Regions from separate parts of the Homo sapiens genome. Here regions 1, 3 and 4 are each linked to region 2. The links are contacts of gene promoters, found by promoter capture Hi-C in blood cells and fetal thymus (Javierre and others, 2016). All regions are on one chromosome and are shown on one strand. The core of a region is centred on a gene start or on the middle of the fragment in contact, and the rest is flanking DNA. Distances in the headings are between cores, read along the strand shown.

Evidence for each region. The method cuts DNA at HindIII sites, captures the fragments that hold promoters and counts their contacts. A CHiCAGO score of 5 or more calls a contact.
Region 1: a contact is called between the fragment with the promoter of ECE1-AS1 here and the fragment with the promoter of RAP1GAP in region 2, in 3 of 17 cell types (M0 macrophages, fetal thymus and M1 macrophages). The highest score is 6.5, in M0 macrophages.
Region 3: the fragment with the promoter of HSPG2 here is called in contact with the fragment with the promoter of RAP1GAP in region 2 in 1 of 17 cell types (megakaryocytes); the score reaches 5.0 in megakaryocytes.
Region 4: the fragment with the promoter of CDC42 here is called in contact with the fragment with the promoter of RAP1GAP in region 2 in 4 of 17 cell types (megakaryocytes, M0 macrophages, non-activated CD4 T cells and 1 more); the score reaches 8.2 in megakaryocytes.

What each region holds. Positions count from the first base shown.
Region 1 is chr1:21,292,015-21,295,197 of GRCh38, forward strand. It overlaps ECE1-AS1 (ECE1 antisense RNA 1), which reads left to right and starts at 1,276. Exons shown (of 3, transcript NR_038404.1): 1 at 1,276-1,729; 2 at 1,920-2,196. It also overlaps a transcript of ECE1 not described here. RefSeq lists enhancers at 1,223-1,312, 2,154-3,183, 2,693-2,852. The HindIII fragment of the contact is 8,029 bases long and covers 1,110-3,183 here.
Region 2 is chr1:21,668,033-21,671,020 of GRCh38, forward strand. RAP1GAP (RAP1 GTPase activating protein) reads right to left here and starts at 1,325. Exons shown (of 25, transcript NM_002885.4): 1 at 1,222-1,325. RefSeq lists a silencer at 1,247-1,396 and an enhancer at 2,045-2,988. The HindIII fragment of the contact is 8,301 bases long and covers 1-2,866 here.
Region 3 is chr1:21,935,854-21,939,013 of GRCh38, forward strand. HSPG2 (heparan sulfate proteoglycan 2) reads right to left here and starts at 1,457. Exons shown (of 97, transcript NM_005529.7): 1 at 1,302-1,457. The coding sequence starts at 1,364. RefSeq lists an enhancer at 1-748 and a silencer at 1,496-1,845. The HindIII fragment of the contact is 13,080 bases long and covers 788-3,160 here.
Region 4 is chr1:22,050,960-22,054,195 of GRCh38, forward strand. CDC42 (cell division cycle 42) reads left to right here and starts at 1,750. Exons shown (of 6, transcript NM_001791.4): 1 at 1,750-1,783. RefSeq lists silencers at 1,839-1,988, 2,049-2,268, 2,279-2,458 and enhancers at 2,171-2,738, 2,739-3,236. The HindIII fragment of the contact is 1,393 bases long and covers 1,140-2,532 here.

The DNA of each region.
Region 1 (3,183 bases), core at 26-2,525, 380 kb before region 2:
ACGTGGTGGTATGCGCCTGTAGTCCCAGCTACTTGGGAGGCTTAGGTGGGAGAATCGCTTGAAGCCAGGAGGTGGCGGCTACAGTGAGCTGTGATTGCACCACTGCACTCCAGCGTGGACGACACAACAAGATCTTGTCTGAGTAAATAAATAAAATAAAAAAAAATTCTGATATTACCACTCCCTTGCTTAAAAACCCTCCACTGTCCTGGAATGAAATCCAAACCCTTCACCAGGCCCCATGGCCCCTGCCCACTCTGGGCCCTCATCTTGTGCTGCCAGCGCCCCCTCCCCCACCAACCTCCTCACACAACTCCTCAGTTTCTACAAGTTTCTTCTTCCCCCAAGACCTTTGTAGCTGCTGTTGTCTCTATCTGGAACATTTTTTCCTCCTCTCTACTCTTCCCATGGTCAGCTCCAACTTCAGATCTCAGCCTACCAGCTCCTCAAATGTCCCAGGAACCCTAAGCAGTCCCCCAAATTCTCTGTTACAGCATCCTGTTTGTTTTCCTTTACAGTACTTGTTGCAGACTGTTTTGTTTCCATGTCTTTATCATCACTGTCTCTGTCCCTCTCCAGAATCCACAGCTTTACTGGGGCTGGGACCTTGTCTGGCCTGTCCAACAGAGACTCTCCATCACCCGGCACAGAGTAGGTGCTCAACAAACGGTTGTTAAAATCAAAGGGGGGACAAGTAGAGGGGAAGTGCCTTCAAGTTCTCAAGAACTCTCCTGCATCTAACTTCATAATGCCTACAGAAACAGGGAACACATCTAAAGGTCACAGGCCCTGGGGAGGCAGGGTGCATGGGAAAGCTCTGAATTCTGGAGACTTCTGCCTCACTCCCACTGGGTGGAGGAGTTTCCATTACCCATCCCAGAGAGAGAGGGGACTCTGAGGCTGCTTCACTTACTGCTGGGTTGCAGCTGGGCTTTTTCTAGAACAGGACACTTGGTTACACTACGTTACCAGGTGTCGATTGCCAGAGGAAAAGACTTTTGAAAAAGAAGTTCAGTTCACAGAACATCTCCCCGGGGCATGTGGGTGGTGTAAGGGATTCACCCGGCTGGTGTACGGGATTTGTCAGTTCTTTTATACCATCTCTTTTAAGCTTCTCACCCTTCCCTCAGAAGCAGGTATCACTGGTTCCTTTTACAGAGAATGAAACTGAGGCTTGGGGAAGTTAACTCGCCCAGGTGTGGTTAAGCGATGGCTCCTCCTCCTTCTGTCTCATTTCAGAGATTTCCCCCTTCTGGCAAGCTCTCCTGACCACCCTCCAGGGACCCCAGACAGCATTTGGTCCCTGGCTCTGTGTCCCCACACAGCCACCCTACCCCATGCTGCCTTTTACTGAGGCACACAGCATTTTAGACAGGAGAACCCTGATGGCAGAGGCTGGGTCTCACGGGACCCTGTCTCCTTAAGGGCTTAGTCTGGGGCTGGAGCCTCTACAGATGTTTGAGCAAAGGCGGGAGGCAAGGGAGGGAGGCCGGAAGCCACCCCAGGGACTCTGATGTCCACCCTGCGGCAGCCTGTCTGTGGACAGATGATGCAGGAAGCTCACGGAACTCCCAAGCAGAAATCAGCAGAGATGGAGCCTGGTTATTTTTCAGCACACAAAAGCCGAGGGCCCCTTCCTGAGATGCCTGCCTCAGCCCGGTAGTGAAACTGAACCCACCTCAGACGGGAAAGGCTTGGCGGGCTCTGCTTGGTGGGAAGTCCACAGTGGGTGAGTGACATTTCAACAGCTGCCTGGGGCCCTTCGCCCAGGGCCTTCCATTCACTACCCCAATGGCTCCCCACACCCACCTAGAGCCTCAGCCTCACAAGTACCGCTTCCAGCTTACAGAGAGGGGGAGGGGCCTAGACAGACCAAAAACCAACCATGCCACTTGACAAATTCTCTCCTAACCCCACAGTGCCTCGTCCCTGAGATGAGAATCATCACCTCCGCTTTACAAATGAGATGACCAAGGGTCAGAGAGGAGAAAGGACCTCCCCCCAGCCCTGAGTCACCTGCCTGGAGACTGAGGGAGCCATAATGCGAATCTTCCCCTTGCCAAACCCACTGACTCCATTACGCTGCCTCCAGAGAACCCGAGCCCCGCGGCGAGAAAGTGGTAGAGCTGGGCCTCGAACCTGGGTCCTGGACTCTTGGTCCTGTGCTCCTTGTGGAAGATGGAACTGCTTCTTCAGGTGGGAACCTCACAGAGTCTGGGTGCCCTGGGCAGACTGAGGCTCTGGGCTGACAGGGCAGCCAGCACTTATTCTCCCTAATTGTCTCATTTGCAGTTGTGGGTGCCACGCCTGGCCCCGAGTGTGTTGGGGAAGGTAAAGAACCTCCACTTTGGTCTTCTCAGTTCCCTTCCTGGCACTGTGCAGCCGTGGAGGAGAAATCTGGGTTGAATCTGGGTCTAGTGTTCAAGAGGAGGGCCTGGCAGAAACCAAGAGTGAAGGGGTGGAACCACAGCTCCCTGTGGACTGCCCCGTCCTCAGTCCCCGGTGCCCCAGCTGCACAGAGGAAGTGATGACAGCCAGATGAAGGTGCAACAGTGCCCAGCTCTGGAAACTCCACCCTTGTAAATCAAAGGCCTGTGGTGAGCAGAAACGAGAAATATAAACACGCACAGGTTTCTGGCGACAAAAGCCTCCTGGCCTGGTAGCACCTGGGCATGACCCCCTTTGCCCAGACGACATTAGTCACTCATATGGCTCTTGCGTTTGGTTGGCCAAAGGCGGGGGATTGTTAAGTCATCTTGGGGTGATGAGGTGGAAAAGGGAAGCCCCACATGTGAAATTCTGAGGCCTGGGACTGAGCCACACCCTCCACAGCTACTTTCACATTGTCTCTAAGCCTCAGCTCCTTAGAGACGCTGCCCTTTGTGGCCGAAGTCCCCATCAGTTACTACTTTTGGTGCTGGTAATTGGCTGGGATCTGTTCAATCTTTACATGTCATCTAAAACACACTCATATTATCTGGTAGCTAAACACTTATATTTCACAGATGCTATAATGTAGTGGGTAAAATCTCTGGATCTAAACCTCATTTCAGATCCCCAGTCTGAACTTCCCAACTCTGTGACCCTGAGCAAGTGACTCAGCCTCTCTGTGCCTCAGTACTCATCTGTCAAATGAGGAGGATGATGATAACAATAGTACCTCCCTCATAGGACTGTGGTGAC
Region 2 (2,988 bases), core at 75-2,574:
GGCCCTGTGCCAGTCCAGAAGCCCATTCAGGGACACCTTTGGCCAATGTTCTGTTTCATCTGCGAGGCAACCTTCCCCAGTGCCCCAACCATAGCGTTTTCCCCCAAACACCCTCAGGAAGGAGGGACCACTACCTGTGCAGGGGGGGCCAGGAGCCTCCTGAGAGCCTCATATGGGGAGGAAGTGGTACCATCTCACCCCCATTGCCTTTCTCTCCTACTTCCACCTGGCCAGCTTCCCTCAGTGCCCCTCCTGCCTCAGTGCCCCTTCCCTCAGTGTCCTTCCTGCCTGCCGCCCCAGGGGCCTGACCTCTGACTTGGCAGGGAGGGGAATGGAGCCCGGGGACAGAGGCCAATGAGCCCTGAGAACAGTGGATGTTCTTCCTGACCCCACCACCGGGCCTGTGCTATGACCCCAACAAGGACTCCGAGGGCATGCACAGGCTGGGGTCTGTTATGGTAGGGAGGGGGCCGCTCACCTCCGGAGACTGTGTGTGTGTGCAGGTGTGCGTACACAAGGTTTCTTCCCCAAGCCCAGGCGCCCCGCAGCTGGCACCAAACCCTGCAGGGCACGGAAACCGCCCCGTGAATTCCCACCGAGTCCTCAGATCCTGCCGAGCCAGGGGAGGCGACGAGGGGGCGCCCAACTTCGTGACGCGTGTGCCCCGCTCTGCCGCGGGGGTCAGGGACAGGGGAATGCGTCCTGTCTCTGGGGATGCAAGGACATCACCGCCCTCCCCGCTCAGGGTCCTTGATCTGAGGCCCCCACTTCCCTCCTCTGAGGACAGGAGCGCCACCCTCTGGGGGGCGCTAGGGCTTGGGCCCCTCCCCAGGGATGGAGGAAACGCGCCCACTTCCCACAGTCCCTCCTCTAAACCCCAGGCGCCCCCACCTCGAGGTGGGCGGAAAACTGGACTCCCCACCCACCCAGGGGGGTGGGACCAAAGCCCCCTGGCCGCGGCCTGGACCAAGTCCAACAGGCTGGGGGTTCAGCCGGCTCAGTCCAGGCCTCCCCCCACTTCTCCAGCTGCTGTCAAGACCGGGCTGCGCGAGCCCAGCTGCGCCCACCCCTCGCCCCTGGAGACCCGGGTCCCCCACGCGTTCGCCCCCACCCTCCGTCCCCGCCCGCCCGCGCGGGGTCTTCGCTGCGAGCCGACGGGAGTCTGGACACCTCTGTCCCCTTCCCCTTTCCAGGGCCGCAGCCCTGGCGGGGCGCACTCACCCAAGGGCCTGGGCCGGGGGCGTCCTGGGCTCGGCACTCTGGTGCCCGCGGCCGCCGCTGCAGCTCTGCTCAGATGCGGCCGGCGCTCGCCGCCGCCGCAGTTCGGGGAGGGGGACGTCACATGACCGCGGAGCGCTCCTTCCCCGGCGCCGCTCCCCACTCACTGCGGAGCCCAAGCCGCGGGCGCGGGAGCGGCGGGGAGGCCCCCGCCCTGCCGCCCCGCCCCGCCGCAGGTCCTGGAGGAGGGTTCTCGGTGCCCCCATTTTACAGGTGGGGAAACTGAGGACCAGAGAGGGGCAGGGACTGGCTCAAGGTTACACAGCTAGACAGTGGCAGAACCTGGGCGACAGCCCAGCTGTCCAGGCAACAGCTCATGCTCCAAGGGGACTGGGACAACTTCTGGATCAAGTGGAGACGTCGGGATAGGTGGGGCCCACGGCCCCCATGGGCTCCGCTTGTCTGCAGGCGCGGGAGGAAGGCGCACAGGCTTCGCTGGGCGAGAAAGCTGCTGTGCCCTGGCTGACGCCCTCCTCACCCGGGCGCTCGGCGCGCTTCCTGGCAGAGGCCACGCGGTTGACCCTCGCCAGCCCATTCGCGGCTCTTGGACTTTGTCTCTGGACTGGGCAGCTCGCCCCCGCCCCAGCCTAACCCGGGCCCAGGGCGGGTGTGGGGAGGGGAGCCACAGGCTACGGAGAAGTGGAAGGGAGGCACCCGGAAGAGAGTGGGATCAGAACAAGAGTGAAAACCCAGGCAGGGAGGGGGCGGCAGAGATCACCTCGGCCTGACTTCCAAGGCCCAGGGAGAGTTAGAGACTTGCCCAAGGTCCACAGCAAGTGAGCGGCCTGCCCACTCGAGTCCCTTCTTTGATGGTCAACAGAGCCTGAGGCTCCTGTGCCCCACTCCCCACCAAGGGGGAGCCCTCACCCACACCTCTTTCTGTTCTCCACTGAGCTCCCTCCCCGGGGAACAGCCCACATGAAGCAAAGAAACACGCAGTGGGTCGGCAAGGCCAGAACTGGGGACAACGGGTGAGGGGTATGGTTGGTGGCTCCAAGGTCATGAACTCGTCACAGAACACTCGTGTTCCAGGGGGATCTCTGAAATCTCTGGATCTCACCCCAATGTTCTAAGAACTGGGAAAACAGGCTGCAAAAGGTACAAAGACAGACCTCTTTCTCAACCATTTCGAATTGGTGGGTCAAGCCGACAGGGCCCTCCAAGGTCAACAAGTCCAATAGGCCCACTTGACAGATAATATTTAGGGAGGGGAAAGTCCAAGACATGTACTCAATATATTTCTTGAGCATCTACTGTGTGCTTAAAACCACAACTGTTACTTCCAGCTCCCACTATTTTCCCGGCCACATGGGCTGCATTTCACAAAAGGAAAGATCCGAGGTCTTCAGCAACTCTTACATCAGCCTCTGGAGGATCTGAGACATGCAAGCCTCCGGGTTTTCAGTCCCATAGGGGCTGGGGACCAGAGCCATGTTTTCCGGTCAAGACTCTAATCCCCGTGGAGAAAAGGTGAATAAGGGGGAATAGCAGGAAATGCCCCACCCTCTTCCCACGCATCCACCCACCTGTGAAAGGGCAGAGGGGAAGGTAGATCAGGCACTTGTTCTTTTCAGTCCTCCCTCCAGCAAGCTTCCCTAGCTGTATATGGGAAAGAGACCCCAGCCCAGGGGGGTTTCTCAAACTTCTAAGAGTGCAGGAGCGGTCTGTAGACTCAGATTCAGATTCAGTGGGCCTGGAGCCTGAGCTCCT
Region 3 (3,160 bases), core at 207-2,706, 270 kb after region 2:
GCTGAAACAGGAGGACGACAGAGGAGGCTGCCCAGAGTGGGGATGGGGGAGGAGAAGTGCTGGGTGGGTGGGGCAAGAGCAGTGAGGAGCCAGGTCTGGGTGGGGGCTTGACGAGTGACTCAGGAGGGTAGAGGTGCGATGAAGCCAGGAAGGTGAGGCCAGGCAGGCAGTTCCTGGGTAAACACCAGCCTGGTTAGAAAAGTCCCTCTCTTGGCTCAGAGAACAGGGAGGCAGGTATGGGGACTGCCTAGGAGCACCTCGGAGAGAGTGGGGGTGGCTCTGTGGCTCCCCACGGTAGGCTCGGCTCCCCAGATGTGCCCCCACCCACATCTGCCACTAGCTCCCTGCCCACCGACCCCACCCAGTCCTCCTCAAGTTCACTCAGGTCCTCAGGGCCTCTGCTGGCCAAGTGCCTTCTAAGCCTCGGGATTCCTGACCGTAGAATTCCCTTTTCCTCCACCTAAGCTCAGAGTAGGGGACTAGACTGCAAGGGCAGGCCTCTCCCTGCCTCTTGGAGACCTGGGAAGAGGAAAGCTGGGGAACTCGGGTCCCCCAAGGGTGCACTGCATCCCCGCACCACGCACTTTGCAGCTCATTCCACGCAGTCCAGCAACGCCCTGCAGCTATGCATTTTGAGGCCGTGCATTTTGAGTTCCCTTGACCCACGTGGGGCTGGCCTCAGAGAGGTTAACTAGCGTGCCCCAGGTCACACAGTTACTCAGTGAAAGGCAGGGATTGATTCAACTCTTCGGCTGTATGACTCCAAGGCCCGTGGGTGTTCCACACAAGCTTCAGTTCTGTCCCAAAAGTTTTGCTTGTGCCTACCTGGGTCCAAGCTCCCCAAGGTGATAGACGGTGTGGTAAAGTTTCAGCGAGACTCATAGGGTCCCCATCACCACTGAGTGGCCGTTCTGCCAAGCTGGCGCAGAAGGGTTCCCTCGTCCTGCCAAGTTCCCACCCTGCTCAAAGTTTCCCCTCCTGGTCCCCAGGAATGGTAGGCCGGACCATGCCCAGCGAGACTCCAGCACTCGGCAACGTGGCCGAGAGACCCACGGGCTCCCACACGGGCCAGCCCCGCCCCCAGCCCCACGAAGGGTCCTGACTGGTGGCCCCCCTGGATTAGCCCCATGCCGCAGGGTGGCGCCGGCCCGGGGTCCCCGGCGGGCGCCGCCGTCCCGGGCCAGAGTCCCCGCCGCGCAGCCTTGGGCGCCCCAGCCAAGTTGGCGGGAGGCGGCGAGCGGGACCGGGGCGCCCCTAGCCCCTCCGCCCCCGCCCCCCGCCCCTCTGCCCCGCACACTCACCGCCAGCAGCCGCCCGTGCAGCAGCAGCGCCAGCAGCAGCGCGCCCGCCGCCCGCCACCCCATGGCCCGGCCCGCGCCGCTCTCTCGCTCGCTCGCTCCGCGCCGCCCGCTCCGCGCCGCCCGCAGCCGCCCGCTCGCCGGCCAGCTCGGGACAGCGCGGCCCTCTCCCCACCGCCCCCTTTCCTCCCCGCCCGCCCCGCCCCCGCAGCGCCGGCCCCGCCCCCGAACCGCCCCTCCCCGGAGCGCCAGGCCCCGCCCACGGACCGCCCCCGGGCCGCGGGCTCTGCTCGCCCCAGCCGGCCGCGCAGCCTACTAGGCCTTTGTCTGGGCCCCCAGCCCCCTCCGCGCGGGCCGCGGCCCGGCCCGGCTCCCCGCCAAACCCGGCCTGGAGTATGGGATGGGACGGGGCGGGGGACCGGGGGCCCGGGCCCGGGCATGGGATGGGGCCGCCGGGCCAGGCGCTCTCGCCTCCCCGATCCCCGGCTCCCCCGCTTCCCCGCGCGCGCCGCCGACTTCCACGCCCCTGCACGCCCCGCACGGCCGACTCCACTCGCGCAGCTTTTGAAGATCCCGGGATCTCCTTCCCACGCTCACACGCACGCAGCTGCCGCTCCGCGCCACACGTGCACGCCAACTTCCACACCCAAGAACACCTTCACACCATAACTTTACTGCACGAACACACTTGTGCGCTACCCGGGAACACTTTCACACTCTGGACCCAACTCTGAAGTACCAACAATCCTCACCGGCTCACATGCACACTTAACTCGCTTCCAAACTCTCACCTCCACCAGGGACACAGGAGACAGCCCTCACACCACACTCAGCCCCTCACTCACGCATACATCCCAACAAGTCACGGAGCGGGAGGACGCCTTTTCACATAGATTCCTCGCAGGCACGCACATTTCACACACAGGCCCACATCATTGCCTACATGCTTACCAGCTTGTTTTTTTTTTTTTTTTTTTTTTTGAGAAGGAGTCTCGCTCTGTCCCCAGGCTGGAGTGCGGTGGTGGGATCTTGGCTCACTGCAACCTCCGCCTCCGGGTTCAAGCAATTCTCCGGCCTCAGCCTCCTGAATAGCTGGGATTACAGGCGTGCCACCACGCCTGGCTAATTTTTGTATTTTTAATAGAGATGGGGTTTTTACCATGTTGGCCAGGCTGGTCTCGAACTCCTGACCTTGTGATCTGCCCGCCTTGCCCTCCCAAAGTGATGGGATTACAGGCATTGAGCCACCGCACCCAGCCTCAGCCTGTATCTTTTACCTGTTCTCACCCACTAATCACAGTGCCTCATAGTGGGCACTGGGTACTGAACTGAGCTGCCCACCCCACCTGCACCATTTTCCATGTAAATCACTCACACACCAACTTTGAGTCACATAAATCACAGCCCCAGAGCCAGAACCACACCAACTCACACACTCAGGCCCAGACAGACAGACCCTGCCAAAGCCCCATCACAGATGCTCGGGTGGGTGGTAAAATCACAGCCCCATGATCTGTCTCTGACCCAACCGCAGGCAGCAAACAGCACCAAGCCCCCAGACCTATTCACTGCCTACTCTTCAGCTCCCCTCTTCTGCCTGAAATTTCCAGGGCAGCCCGAGGCTGATGGGTGGAGAGGAAAACTATGTGTGTGTAGCTTTGAGGAAAACCTTTTGAGTAATGATAGAGGAGGAGAATAAAACTGAAGTTTCCATTGTTTCCTGTGAGAGTTGCTAGGTTCCAGAAACTCATGGCTGGGTTTGCAGCCAGGAGTGAGGTGAGCTGTGGACAGAAGGAAATGCCCAGCTCACTGGGCGGCACCAGGCCTGGCTCCGGAAGCTATGTTCCCTGTGATAGGGGTCC
Region 4 (3,236 bases), core at 500-2,999, 380 kb after region 2:
TCAATATACTGGAATTAAGTGTCTTTGTTGGCCAAATAGCTGTGGCAGTAGACAATAAATGAGCTGTTATTAAGATAAGCAATTTTTTTTTATTTTTTTTGAGACAGAGTCTCGCTCTGTTGCCCAGGCTGGAGTGCAGTGGCGCGATCTTGGCTCACTGCAAGCTCCGCCTCCCGGGTTCACGCCATTCTCCTGCCTCAGCCTCTCGAGTAGCTATGACTACAGGAGCTCGCCACCACGCCCGGCTAATTTTTTTGTATTTTTAGTAGAGGCGGGGTTTCACCGTGTTAGCCAGGATGGTCTCGATCTCCTGACCTCGTGATCCGCCCGCCTTGGCCTCCCAAAGTGCTGCGATTACAGGCATGAGCCACCGTGCCCGGCCTAGGATAAGCAATTTAAGCGATTTTTCTCTAACATGGGGAAACATCTAAGAATAAGAGAGGGAAGTTCTCTATTTTCCTGAAGCTTTCATACTAGCAGAGAAGACAAATAATAGATACTGCGAAGATAGGATGATTGAAGAATGCAGTGATATAAATTTGGGGGAAGAGGAGGGAGGCAGAGCAAAGAAATTCAAGGCCTTGGCCAGACGTAATGTCTCACACCTTGTAATCCCAGCAGTTTGGGAGGCTGAGGCAGGCTGATAGCTTGTGTCCAGGAGTTCGAGACCAGCCTGGGCAATCCAGCAAAACCCTGTGTCTACAAAAAAATACAAAAATTAGCCAGGCATGGTGGCATGCGCCTGTGGTCCCAGCTACTTGGGAGGCTGAGGTGGGAGAATCGCCGGGACGTCGAGATTGCAGTGAGCTGAGATCGTGCCACTGCACTCCTGCCTGGGTGACAGAGCAAGAACGTCTCAAAGAAAAAACAACAACAACAACAACAACAACAACAACAAAAACACAAGGCCTGTGGTTGGGGGAAGGTTGTAACTCTAAAAAAGACCCATGTGGCTACAGCGAGGGACACTGGGTGTAGGTAGAGATAAGAAGAGTGATACTCAGTTCTCACATCACGGCGGACTGAATACAGGCCCGGGGAGTGAGAGACCATCCACCCCTGTGATCTGGGGCAAGTCACCAGCCCTTTCAGAGAAGCTTCCGTCTTCTCTGCAAAATGGGACAATACCTTGCTTCACAAGCTTGCAAGGATCAAAAGAACTGGTAGTGGGCCGGGCGCGGTGGTTCACGCCCGTAATCCCAGCACTTTGGGAGGTCGAGGCAGGTGGATCACTTACTTGAGGTCACGGGTTCGAGACCAGCCTGGGCAAAATGGTGAAACCCCGTGTCTGCTAAAAATACAAACATTAGCCTGGCGTGGTGGCAGGTGCCAGTGATCCCAGCTACTCGGGAGGCAGAGGCAGGAGGATCGCTTGAACCCAAGGGGTGGAGGTTGCAGTGAGCTGAGATCGCGCGCTGCACTCCAGTCTGGGCAACAGATCAAGACTGTCTCAGAAAAAACAAACAAAAAAGAACTGGTAGAGGAAGCGCTTTGCATACTATCGTTCACAGTATTATTACAAATACAACCATTAGGAAAACATGCAGAGCATAGCCCCGAACTCACGAGCTGCGCCGGCCCGCGCGTGCGCGACAGGCGGGCGGAGCCAGGGCAGTCCAGGCACCGCCTTGACCCGCCCCAGCCTCTTCCCCTTCCCTGTTCCTCCCACTTCCGCGGGCACCCAACTGTGCGTCTCCTGCGCGCTGACGTCAGGTGCGTGCCCCTGTCCGGCAGCCGAGGAGACCCCGCGCAGTGCTGCCAACGCCCCGGTGGAGAAGCTGAGGTGAGTGCGGGGCCCGAGGTTCCCCGCGGGAGCTGCCACCCTACCTTCCCATCCCCGCCGTCTCCGTCCTCTCCCAGTCCTCGGGGACACCCCGTCTGCGGGATCGTGGGGGGCCCGGGAGCACGGGTTGTGGGGGAGTGCCCGGCTCGCGCTGCGTCCTCCGGGCGGGCGCGGGTCCGCGTTCTGTGGGGGAGCCGGGGCGGGGGTCGCGGCCGGGGAGGCAGGGGGCGCCCGTCTGAGGAGGGGCGCGCGGCCGGGGCTCGGGGCGCGAGCGGGACCGGGCTGTCACCGGCAGCGGCGGAAGGAAGGGGGTCACACCCATCCTGGGCGCCCGGGCTCCCCTCCCCCCAGCCCGGCCCGGCGGGCTCCTAAGGGCGGCCGGGGGCCTCAGAGCGACTCGCGGGCGCTTGGGCCGGGCCGGGCGCCGGTCTTCCGTGCTGGCAGGCTGCGTTCCGTGCCCTGCGCTCCGGCCTGGACTTCCTGCTTCGCCGGGCGCCGCCGCGGACATTTTGCGGCGGGGGTGGGGGGGCGGGGGAGGGGAGTGGCGTTGCGGCCGCGGCGGGGCGGTGGCAGGAGGGCAGCTCGCTGGCTGCTCGCGGCGGTGCCTGTCCGAGCTCCCCTCCGCGCCGGCCGCGTCCTCTGGGCGGGGTGGCCCCGAGCCACGGCCTCCAGGCTGCTCTTCCTTTCGGAGGTCGAGTTCCTAGCATTTCCATCCGCTCCTCCAGCCCGCTCCCTGCCGGTTTAGCTGAAGCTTCCCTTTCGGGGAGTTACCTAACTACCTCCCGAAGCCGTCGTTCTGCTGCTTGGTTAATTCCTCTTATCGGGGGGGAATTTTCTTTGTTCGTTTGTTTTTCCTCCCCTTTAAGTCCAAGATAAATGTAGTGTGGAAGATTACGTCATCGCGGTATAAGGAGTGAGACTTAACTCCTACAAGTCAGGGACTTAAATTCAAACAGCATTTTGCAGCCTTAGTCGGTCACCCAGTGGCTTATCCTGCCTGCTTCCCAACACGTCGTATTCACAGATGATGTTTTGAAAGCTTGTTACTTGTGTTCATGACCGCCTTCAGTGCACCTAAAAGCTAGGAAGGTTTAAAATCCCAGGATTAGTTTGTGTCAGGGAATAAAGTGTAAGACAACACCGTCCACGGCCCCTTGCGTGGCATTAACTTTAAATAGAGGTCCCTTTGACTATACTAGAATGAGGTGGGTTTATTTGTGGGAACACTTTTCGGTCCAAAATGACTTTCCCAGACTGTTTATTCTCCTTTATGACTTACTGCATGCTGGGAATCTCCCTAGGTTGATTCAAGTGCACTTTTTGTGGTGAAGTTGTGTTGAAAAGAGGATCAGTTTATGCCTGATCTATGCTAGACATTTTAGTTTTGTTATTAAAAACGAGACTTCGATCTTTAAGCAAAAAACTTAATATTTTCATAATTTTGAGATCACAA